Regions from separate parts of the Homo sapiens genome. Here all the other regions are linked to region 2. The links are contacts of gene promoters, found by promoter capture Hi-C in blood cells and fetal thymus (Javierre and others, 2016). All regions are on one chromosome and are shown on one strand. The core of a region is centred on a gene start or on the middle of the fragment in contact, and the rest is flanking DNA. Distances in the headings are between cores, read along the strand shown.

The links. The method cuts DNA at HindIII sites, captures the fragments that hold promoters and counts their contacts. A CHiCAGO score of 5 or more calls a contact.
Region 1: a contact is called between a fragment that was not itself captured here and the fragment with the promoter of UXS1 in region 2, in 6 of 17 cell types (monocytes, M2 macrophages, M1 macrophages and 3 more). The highest score is 29.7, in monocytes.
Region 3: a contact is called between a fragment that was not itself captured here and the fragment with the promoter of UXS1 in region 2, in 1 of 17 cell types (naive CD8 T cells). The highest score is 6.1, in naive CD8 T cells.

Annotation. Positions count from the first base shown.
Region 1 is chr2:106,535,061-106,538,144 of GRCh38, forward strand. It overlaps a transcript of CD8B2 not described here. Among named protein-coding and RNA genes, the nearest start is that of CD8B2, 49 kb to the left of the region's middle. The HindIII fragment of the contact is 1,645 bases long and covers 688-2,332 here.
Region 2 is chr2:106,192,681-106,195,907 of GRCh38, forward strand. UXS1 (UDP-glucuronate decarboxylase 1) reads right to left here and starts at 1,621. Exons shown (of 15, transcript NM_001253875.2): 1 at 1,468-1,621. The coding sequence starts at 1,561. RefSeq lists an enhancer at 714-763 and a silencer at 1,094-1,703. The HindIII fragment of the contact is 11,333 bases long and covers 1-2,509 here.
Region 3 is chr2:105,861,298-105,864,726 of GRCh38, forward strand. All of the region lies in intron 3 of NCK2 (NCK adaptor protein 2), which reads left to right. Among named protein-coding and RNA genes, the nearest start is that of NCK2, 120 kb to the left of the region's middle. The HindIII fragment of the contact is 237 bases long and covers 2,056-2,292 here.

The DNA.
Region 1 (3,084 bases), core at 260-2,759, 340 kb after region 2:
ATCCACCTGCCTCAGCCTCCCAAAGTGCTGGGATTACAGGTATGAGCCACCATACCCGGCCAAGACCTAATGTTTTGCATATAATGTCCCAACGGTACCTTTTGGAAAAATCCATGGCTTCCTCCCTCTCTTCCTCTCCATGTGTGTTACTCACAGTCCCAGATGTTTCTCTAGGGACAGTCGTTTGGGGGCATGTCAGACACTGCAACAAGAGCACACTTAAGATCTAAATTTCCAGGCTGCAGACACTCATTTCCAGGCCAATGCCACATAGACCAAGGTTGTTTGCTGAGGTCCAGGGCTGCCATCACCTGAGAGAAAACATCAATATTAAAAACATAGAGTTAAGGCTAAACAGAAATAGTCTACTATGCAAAGAAGGTCCTTGTGTAGGAAATTGAAGGTGTTTGCCCATGTGATGGATGAGGCTCCTACCAGCTTTTACATACTTTTTAATCAGAACAGTAAGGCAAGTTTATAAAATAGAGAAAACATCACCCGTAATTCCATCACCGTAATACAATTTTAAAAATTCTTGTGTGTTCCTTTGTTCCCACGCTTGGGTATACATCTTACCCAGTTGCATAAAGCCCTTCTACTTTTCTCTACTCAACAGGGGAGCTGGACATTTTTCCATGTTGTTATTTGCTAGTTGTCATTCTGTAAATCCCAGCTCTAACATTCTAAAGCTTGTAAGAGATTTTATTCACCAGATTCCAGCTAATGGTTTATATATTAGTCCATTCTTGCACTGCTATAAATACCTGAGGCTGGGCAACTTATTAAAAAGAAAAAAGAGGGTTAATGGGCTGACAGTTCTGCAGGCTGTGCAGGAAGCATAGAGGCTTCTGCTCTGCTCCTGGGGAGACCTGAGGAAGTTTTCAATAATGGTGGAAGGCACGCAGGGGAGGCAGGTATGTCTTACATGGCCAGAGTAGCAAGAGAGAGAAGAGGCAGGTGCCACACACACTTTTTTTTTTTTTTTTTTTTTGAGACAGAGTTTTGCTCTTGCTGCCCAGGCTGGAGTGCAAGGGTGCAATCTCAGCTCATCACAACCTCTGCCTCCAGGGTTCAAGCGATTCTCCTGCCTCAGCCTCCTGAGTAGCTGGGATTACAGGCAAGTGCCACTGTGCCTGGCTAATTTTGTATTTTTAGTAGACAGGGTTTCTCCATGTTGGTCAGGCTGGTCTCGAACTCCTGACTTCAGGTGATCCGCCTGCCTTGGCCTCCCAAAGTGCTGGGATTACAGCCATGAACCACTGCGCCTGGCCACCACACACTTTTAAACAACTAGATCTCCTGAGAACTCTGCTACAAGAACAGCAGCAAAGGGAGAAATCCACCCTCAAAATCCAATCACCTCCCACCAGGCCCTGCCTCCAACTTTGGGGATTAAATTTGACATGACATTTGGGCAGGGACACAGACCCAAACCATTTCAGCTTAGATATAGGTTGGTGGGAGAGGTTTCCCAAAACTTACTCCTAATGGACTTTAGATTCTTACTGTGACATGACTTTGCTGTATCAAGTATATTCAGCTTTGCTGTAGAGAACAATGAATAGATGAAAAGGGTGAAACTGAGAAGCATATTAAGCACAGAGGGTAGGCGAGCTGCCAGCTCATGAGGTGCAGGTGCATCTCAAAGGGTGTGTTACGGTAAGGAAATGAGTGAGAAGTGGCTTGTGAAGTAAGGGCAGATTCATCAATGTGTTCAATGGTGAGTTAATTATGGGTGTGATGTGTTGAAGACAGAAGTCTTACATGGAATATATGATGGCGCAAATAGTGTTACTGATCATGCCCTCACTGGACTGACAGCTCTGTTACCCCTGCATCAGCCCAGAGCATGCCAATCAAACTGTGGCTGTCCAGCAGGCTAACTGGCGACCTGCAGCTATAGCCAGTGCAGTACGTCTCTCAGAAGAACAAGTTGCTGTGTTTCTCCAATAGGACACATCTGTGCTGTTGGCTCTAGGTGCCCTTTGTCTGTGAGGCCCTGATCCAACTCCAAATCTGGTCTTCGTCACCACCCCATCAGCAGGGAAAACCGATGTGGGAGAGGAAGACAGGACATGTGAATATGGTGCTAACCAGGCCTCATGCTCTGGGCTTCCCCCCAAATGCTGCCCTGCTATTAACCTGCCCCGTCTCTCACCCCTCACTTCCCTATGTGTGTTTTAAACACATTTAATAAACCATGGGCTCATCACAAGGTCATCAGATGATGTCATACCCTGGAGACAACTTTCATTTCCCTAAACTTGCACTTCCCTAGTAGTCCTAGTGAAGCTCTTCAGTTTCAGAGTTTACATTTCCTTGTATGACCACAAGCTTGAACTTCCACTGAGGAGGCAGAAAATTATGGTTCAACGCCACCAAGACACGACATCTTAAAAACAGCTTATCTTACTTAATTTTAAGTACAGTATGCACAGAAATCCCCAAATGAGGTTAAGAGAGGTGTGTGGCACACTTGCACAGATTTCTCATTTGAATCCACATATGCTTAAAATCTCTTTTTACTTGGTGTAGAGCTTGGTTCTATAAGTGCCCTTCAGCTCTCTAAACACCAGATTGTAGCTCCTTGTGGAATGCCCGAGGAAGCGACAAGGAATGAAAAGAAGAGCATGGCTGTTCTTACTGAAGTGGCGGTCGATTTCTAAAAGCCCTTGCAGAGGATTTCTGTTGTTGCCACCTCTAATTAGTACTGCTGGGATTAAACTTAATAGGTTCTGAAGATAAAGTTAGCACGAAGGAAAAACAAACACACTGACAAAGCACATTCAGAATCAGCCGTGGGACAGCCGTCACGCCTGCTTGTTGCTAAGCTAGCTTCAGGCACCTCGCTTTGGAAATTAGCAGGGTAATGAATGTAAAATAAATGAGAAGTCTCTGTGAGGCTCCTTTTCTGACCTGCGCTGAGAGCTGGTGGATGCATGGCCCCAGAGGAGTCTCAAATGCTCAGTGATTGCGGAGGCCTGCGGACCTTCAGTGCTCAAAGTGTTTGCACGCATCTGGGTGTGCCCAGACAAAGCTGCTGGTCTAGGGAAGCGTAAGTCATCAGCTTGACTACCAAAGACC
Region 2 (3,227 bases), core at 371-2,870:
AGCTCCTGCTCCCAGGCCTTTCTGGGTTCAAATTTTGGCCCTCCTTCTCTTACTATCTGTGTGATCATCCATAAATTTCCTAATCTCTCTTGGCCTTAACTTCCTCACCTCTAAAATAGGAATCATTATAGTACCGATTTCCCAGGGTTGCTCAATGATTGAGACAATGGCACTAAGAATCATGACTCACACAGTTAAGCACTCAACAAATGTAGGTAGTATTACTGCCATAATAATAGTTATTCAACTTTAAATGGTCTTTCCTCTTGGGTCTCAGCTTTCTTACTCAAGATTGACCACACACACACTTTAGACTAGTTCTTCCTCCCTTGCAAAACTACACACATCTAACACCCATCCGACGCCTGAAACCTCCCCTAGCAACCCGGAGTCCTGCTGGGGTTTTCCAGCTCCACCTCCTGAACAGCTGGGCTGTAGCACACAGGCTGGATCTACTCATACTTGCCTTCCTAGAGCTCAACTGAAGTCACTTCAGACAAGTGAAGTACCCACTCACCTCTGGAATCAGATCTTGGTAACGCCAACAGGTTAGCAGGTGATTTCATTTCAGTGTGTGTCTGGGTGGCTAGCATTCAAACGCAGCTCACACTGGGAGCTATTTCTAGTCCAATTTTGCTACTTGGTAACGTATTAATAGCATCAATTAAAACATTCCCAACGAATAGATCTTTAAAAGGACGGTTTCTGACTTCCCTAACAAGCAGAGGGCCGACCACCTGCCTGCGAAGTGCCCCTCCTGCCCTGTCTCCAGGCAGCATGCTGTGAGCGATGACAGAAACTGGACCCGCGCACAGAGAAGCTGCAGGCACGCCCTGCCCGGCCACCCAGCTGCCTGCCTGCTTCGCCCGGCCGCCGAGCCCCGGGGGAAAACCTAGAATGGGGATGCCGGTGCGCCCCGACACCTGGGCACGGCCGCGGGCCGGGGAGCCGCCCACACTTGGCTCCCCAAGAGTTAAACGCTGAGTAATTTTCCTGAGGAGCAAACAGTCGGAGCGGGGGCTCTGCCAATGGCCACAGTATTTTTATCCGACTTAACCGACACCGCGGCGCGACCTCGGCTGTCCCCAAGGGTATCCCCACGCGGCACGCTCCGGAGTCCCCGACCGGGACCCTCGCCGGCTCCCAGCGCGACATGGACGACAGCGCCGCCGCCGAGTCCCCCGCGCCCGGGCAGGAGGCAGAGACCTGGGGCCGCCCGAGGACTGCTAGGGGCCCCTCCGCCCGGGGTCCGCGCCCGGGCCTAAGCGGTAGGGGGTGTGCGCCCAAGTTGGCCCGCTTTGCTGCAAGAGTGGAAAGGGGTGGGAGCAGAAAGCGCCGGCCCCGCCCGGGGCGGGGAGCAACGCGGGGCTGCAGGGCCGCCTCGGGGCCCCGAACCACCGCCGCCCGGCCCACCGCGGCGCCGGGGAATGAATGGGGCTCCCCAGCTGGCAGCGGGCGCGCACTCACAGGCGACGTAGGCCAGCAAGGCGATGCCCAGCAGCAGCTTCATCCTCCTGCGGTTGACGGCAGACACGAGGCGCAGCAGCGCCTTGCTCACCATCCCCGGGAGCCGCGCGGGTCCAGGGCCCTACCGCGCGGGGGCCCGCCTGCTGCACAATGCGCGGCGGCGGCGGCGGCAGCGGCCCCGAGAGCCCCGCCTCCTGCCGCCGCGCGCCCCCGCCCCCGCGCGCCTGCTTCCTGCTGGCGGGATCACCGCGCAGGCGCGCCTCCACCCCCTTCCTCCGGCTCCGCCCCCGCCCCTCCGGCTTCTCTACCCGCAGGCGCAGTTGCCGCCTTTCTTGCCTTGGTTTTCGAAGAATGTGACCTGGAGGGCTGGTGGGCGGTGCGGCGCGCCGCGGCGCATGCGCGTTCCGGTCTGTTTTCCCTGAGTTAAAGCGCGCGGGTGCCAGCCGGGAGGTGCGGCTGGATTCGTTTCGCTGAGGTGCGTCCCCAACCCAAGGGCACGACTGCAGTGGCCAGTTTCCGAGCCCCGCCCGGAGGGGGGCACGCGGTGGGCATTCCGGTGTTGCAGTGAAACGAAACTTATTTGCTAAACTTGGCCGAGCCTTAGAAGTTGAATGCCTGCCTCAGAAAGTTGCCTCGTTCTCTGGGCTGTTTAGTTGGCTTTTTTTAGTTAGAATATCGGCAGCGAAAATGATAAATCCCCTAAACCTTGCCGAAGTAAAAACTGGCTGCGTTTTTTTTCCTTGGCTATGATCAACTGGGGTGCCTTTGTTTTAATAATAGTCTTTTATTATTATTTTAAAAAGCAGTGCTAAGTATATTAATTTAGGATAGACTTGGAAAAGAAAAGATGAAATTGCGCTGTCTCTGCCTAGAGAAAAACCCTGACCATGTTGTCGTGTGTGTTTCATTCAATCTTTTTGTTGAGTATATCTGTTTTATGAGTGCTGTACTGATTGCATAGGAGGTACCTGTGTTTAAAAAGCATTTACTGAATGATGATTACAAGCAAGGAGATGTATCAGAAGATCCACAGATAATCGGAAGCTTGTCATTGGATCTGGAGAGAGCTGGTCCCATGGAGGAAAAAAAGACAGGTACACACAGATGTGTGTGATGCCACATTAAGAGAGATCCCGGATTTGGGATCTGCAGGCTTCAAGAGGTCATCTTCAGCTATACGGAGAAGTTGAAGTCAGCAGCGGCTCTCCTACCTCTTGGAACCTCAGGCCATTTTGCAAAACTTAATAGATCACCCTCCTTTAGATTTATTAGAAACCTCCAAGAAAAGGAAATATGGCAGCTGGTACTAAAGCAGCAGCTTTATGTTACATCTTTCAAACTATAGTGCAAATGATGTGATTCTGATAAAACCTACCTCCATCCTACCCCTCCCCTAAACCTGTTGAGAATCCCTGACTAGGAGGAAACACTGAGCGGTTTGCTAAGGCGGATTGCCCCTGCTATGCATGCTGCCCATAGATGGAGTGGACTTCTTTCGAGAAGCCCAGCTCCCTGACTCTGACGTGTCCAAGGAGGCTGCCAAGTGACAAAACACCTGGCATGGGAGCCTGAGTCCTGGGTTCCCAGAGGGGCCAGGCCCCCAGAGCACACCAGTTTGGAACAAATCGATTTTGTTTGTAAGTCTGCATTTCCTCGTGGCTTTCTGGCTATGGTTTTTGAAAAGAGAACTAGAGCAAGTGGAGCTCTAGGCCTTTCCCATTCCATGACTCCGTGGTTTTTAGATTAAAGATGAGGAGCAG
Region 3 (3,429 bases), core at 924-3,423, 330 kb before region 2:
TAAGATCATGCACGATCTTTAAAGACAGTGTATACAGACGTCACATGTCTTGTGAAAGGAAGTCTGGCTCGTGCACCAGGTTCTGACCACCTCTCTATGGGGAAGGAAGCCCACATTAGGTGCTGTGTGCTGGATCCAGGAGCCAAGTCGCTTTCCTTCTGGTATAGCTACCTGCTGAAAGTGATAGTGGCTATTGGTGCCGTTGAGGTTTTTCTCTTTTTTTTTTTTTTTTTTTGAGACGGTGTCTTGCTCTGTCACCTAGGCTGGAGTGCAGTGGCACAATCTCGGCTCACTGCAACCTCCACCTCCCAGGTTCAAGCGATTCTCCTGCTTCAGCCTCCCTAGTAGCTGGGACTACAGGTGTGTATCACCACACCCAGCTAATTTTTGTATTTTTAGTACAGATGGGGTTTTACCATGTTGGCCAGGCTGGTCTCGAACTCCTGACCTCAAATAATCCACCTCCCTCAGCCTCCCAAAGTCCTGGGATTATAGGCATGAGCCACCGCACCCGGCCAGTTTCTCTCATTTTAAAGCACACCAAGTCTTACCACAAGAATCATGCTCAGCAATTTATCTTAAGATCAGACTGGCCTGGAATTCTTTCCTCCCTCCCTCCCTCCCTCCCTCCCTCCCTCCTGCCCGCTCCCCCCTTCCCTTTCTTCCACCTGCATAATGGCTACAAGAAGTAGCAGGTGGGGATCAGGGTAACTGGCTGTAAACTGCAACCAGGGAAGGCAGCCCTGCCCCGGGTAACTAAAGGCCCTTTAGTTAGGGTTAGCCTGCATAAATACATGTAATGAGAGCAGCAACAGCTTGCAATTTATACAGCACTTTGCAATTTACCAGGCGGCTTAACACTTACAGGCATTTTTTTATATCAGTGGTAAAGACTCTAGAATTATGTCTAGGAAGAATTAGAGGGCTTCAGACTAGTGGGAAGGGGGTCGGTCTTGAGCCTGTGCTTCATACTAAGCATGCTGATTTTACTTAGATCAAAAGACCCAGGTTAGTCGAGTAGTCAAGCAAGATTTTAGTTACATGGTACATAAATTTATGAAAATGTCCAGTTCATATGAAAATATGTAATAGCACCCCAGGCCAGCCTCAGTAGTGTTACTAATCACAGATGAAAAAATGAAGCCTGAGAACACAGCAGTCACAGGTACGAGACCCAGAGGGGACTTCAGATCTAATCTGAATTATTTTTCCTCTACCAAATTGACTATCTGGATTTAGTGGTAGGCCGCTTTGTACGTTTGGGGGGACTCTGTCCCAGAGTCAGAATTATACCAAGTTCTTTGTTTTAGAAATGAGAAACCTCGGGAGTAACTAGCAAGCCTTGAAGGGGTTCAAGGGTGAGGTGATAGTCATGTATTGATATAAATTTACTGATTTTGATGAATGCCCTTATTTGTGGAAATACACATAAAGTATTCGGGTAATGGAACATCGTCTTGGCAGCTTAGTCTCAAATGGCTTGGGGAAAATAATGTTTTTTGCGCCGTTTTTGTAATTTTCCTGTGCACTAAAAGAAGCAGACATATCAGCAGTGGTTTAGAGACTACCCTAGGCCGTAAAGGTAGCTGGGAGTCTGGAGACTTGGGCTCCCCTGCTGTGCCTGGGCAGTGCCCTAAGTTTGGCATAAGCCTTTAAGAGGCCAGAAAGAATCATCGAGTATCTGCTGCAGTTGGACTTAGAACATGAGAATAATACCAGATGTCAACGTGCCCAGCTGATGCTTCACAGAATGGTTCTAACAGTACATGATTCAGAACTTTCTCTAATTATTCATCATATCTATATCCCCAGCATGCAAGTGAAAACCATCTCTGCTTCTTGCTGGGTCACCCCAGGCTGTTTTGAGCTCCTGGGCTCACAGCCTCTGTGATTGCTGGGAAATCGGAAATTCTCATTTCGGCATTATAGGATTGTGGGTCTGTCATCGTGATTATAAATATTCTCACAGGTCTCAACAAGGGCAGAGCTGTTCATCTCTGAAATGAAATGTGGGTAACAAATGCAGCAGCCTGGTTCTCGTGGAAGCCGAGTCTAAGCTTCAGTTGTCCCTTTCTCTATCCCTTGGAAATCCCGTCTGAGCCACTGCATTCTCTGCTGTGAGTGACCTTTGAGAACAGTAACCAAAGGCTTTGAAACAGGGATGCAGACACGATGCAGCAACCCCAACAGTGTAATAGGGTGTGTTCCGATCAGAAGGGGGAGCCTGGTCAGATGTTATTTCATCTGGTCGGGATGTGAAGGAAGGATAAGGCTTAGTCCCTGACTTTCTGAAGCTTGTATTTGTAATATAATCGGGAAAATAATACTGGCACAAGATGGACAGTCCTCATTCAAACAATAGCACTGTCCCTTCCTGTCCAATGGGAAACTAGGGCTGAGTTATGCAGCTCGGGCACCTGTGCTTTCAGAGAGCATGTAGCATTGTGGGCAGGAGGGAGGACTCTGGAGTCTTCGATCACCTGCATTCAAATCCAGGCTTTGCCACCTACTGCTCTTAATCATTGAGTGACTTTGAACAAGCCGCTGAAGCTTCTGAGCCTCAGTTGCGTCGTCTGTATAACGGGATACGTGACTGCTTGTCTCATAAAGTTTTTGAGAACTGAAGGAAGTCATTCATGTGAAGAATACTCTGAGCTGGGTTGAGACTTGGCGAGGGGGGGTGGGGTCTCACTTGAGGGATGCAGAGTGCAAGTGAGGATGTGAAGACGGAAACCCATAGGTGTGGGGAAGGCCATCGGCGAGCCAGCCGGACTGGGGTGAGCAAGAGGGCTGGGGCAGCCTCTGGGGTGGGGCATGCCACACCGTAAAGGCCCTGGGTGTGAAAAAAGAACCCTCGGAGGTTTCCACAGGGCTTAAGGGGGAGATGAGTGCTGGGGTGTCCGGCAGGGGTCCTGATCCTTGTCTTCAGGACACGACTGGAAGGGCCTGAGCCTGGCAGTGGGAGGTGGGGGACGGGGCCTGAGAGTGACCCAGGGTGACATCCCAAGCCCTGAGCTCAGCTGTGGGGATGGAGGACAAAAGAGAAAAGGAAGATTTTGAAGGAAAACCCCTAGGACTCTGTTGACTGGATGGGGAACACCTCGGAGAAGTATTAGAATGACTCAAGAGTTTCCAGCCTGAAGGACCAACAGTGACCCAGAGAGTGGGGGAAGTAAGAGGAGACTGAGCCACGGTGCGTAGTGGAGTTTGAGGTTAGGGTGGGACGTCAGTAGGATGCAGAGAAGGCTGCAGGTGTGAATCTCAGGCTTGGGAGGTACACAGTTATCCTTATGACATACTTCTTTATGTCAGTGAATTTTCATTTTCAGATGTGTAAAGATAATGTAATCCAGGGCCTACCTCGGAGAGCTGGCACTTCTGAGGCAGCTGATTAGGTACCTCAGCCAGGCATTCAATTTCTCTCATGTT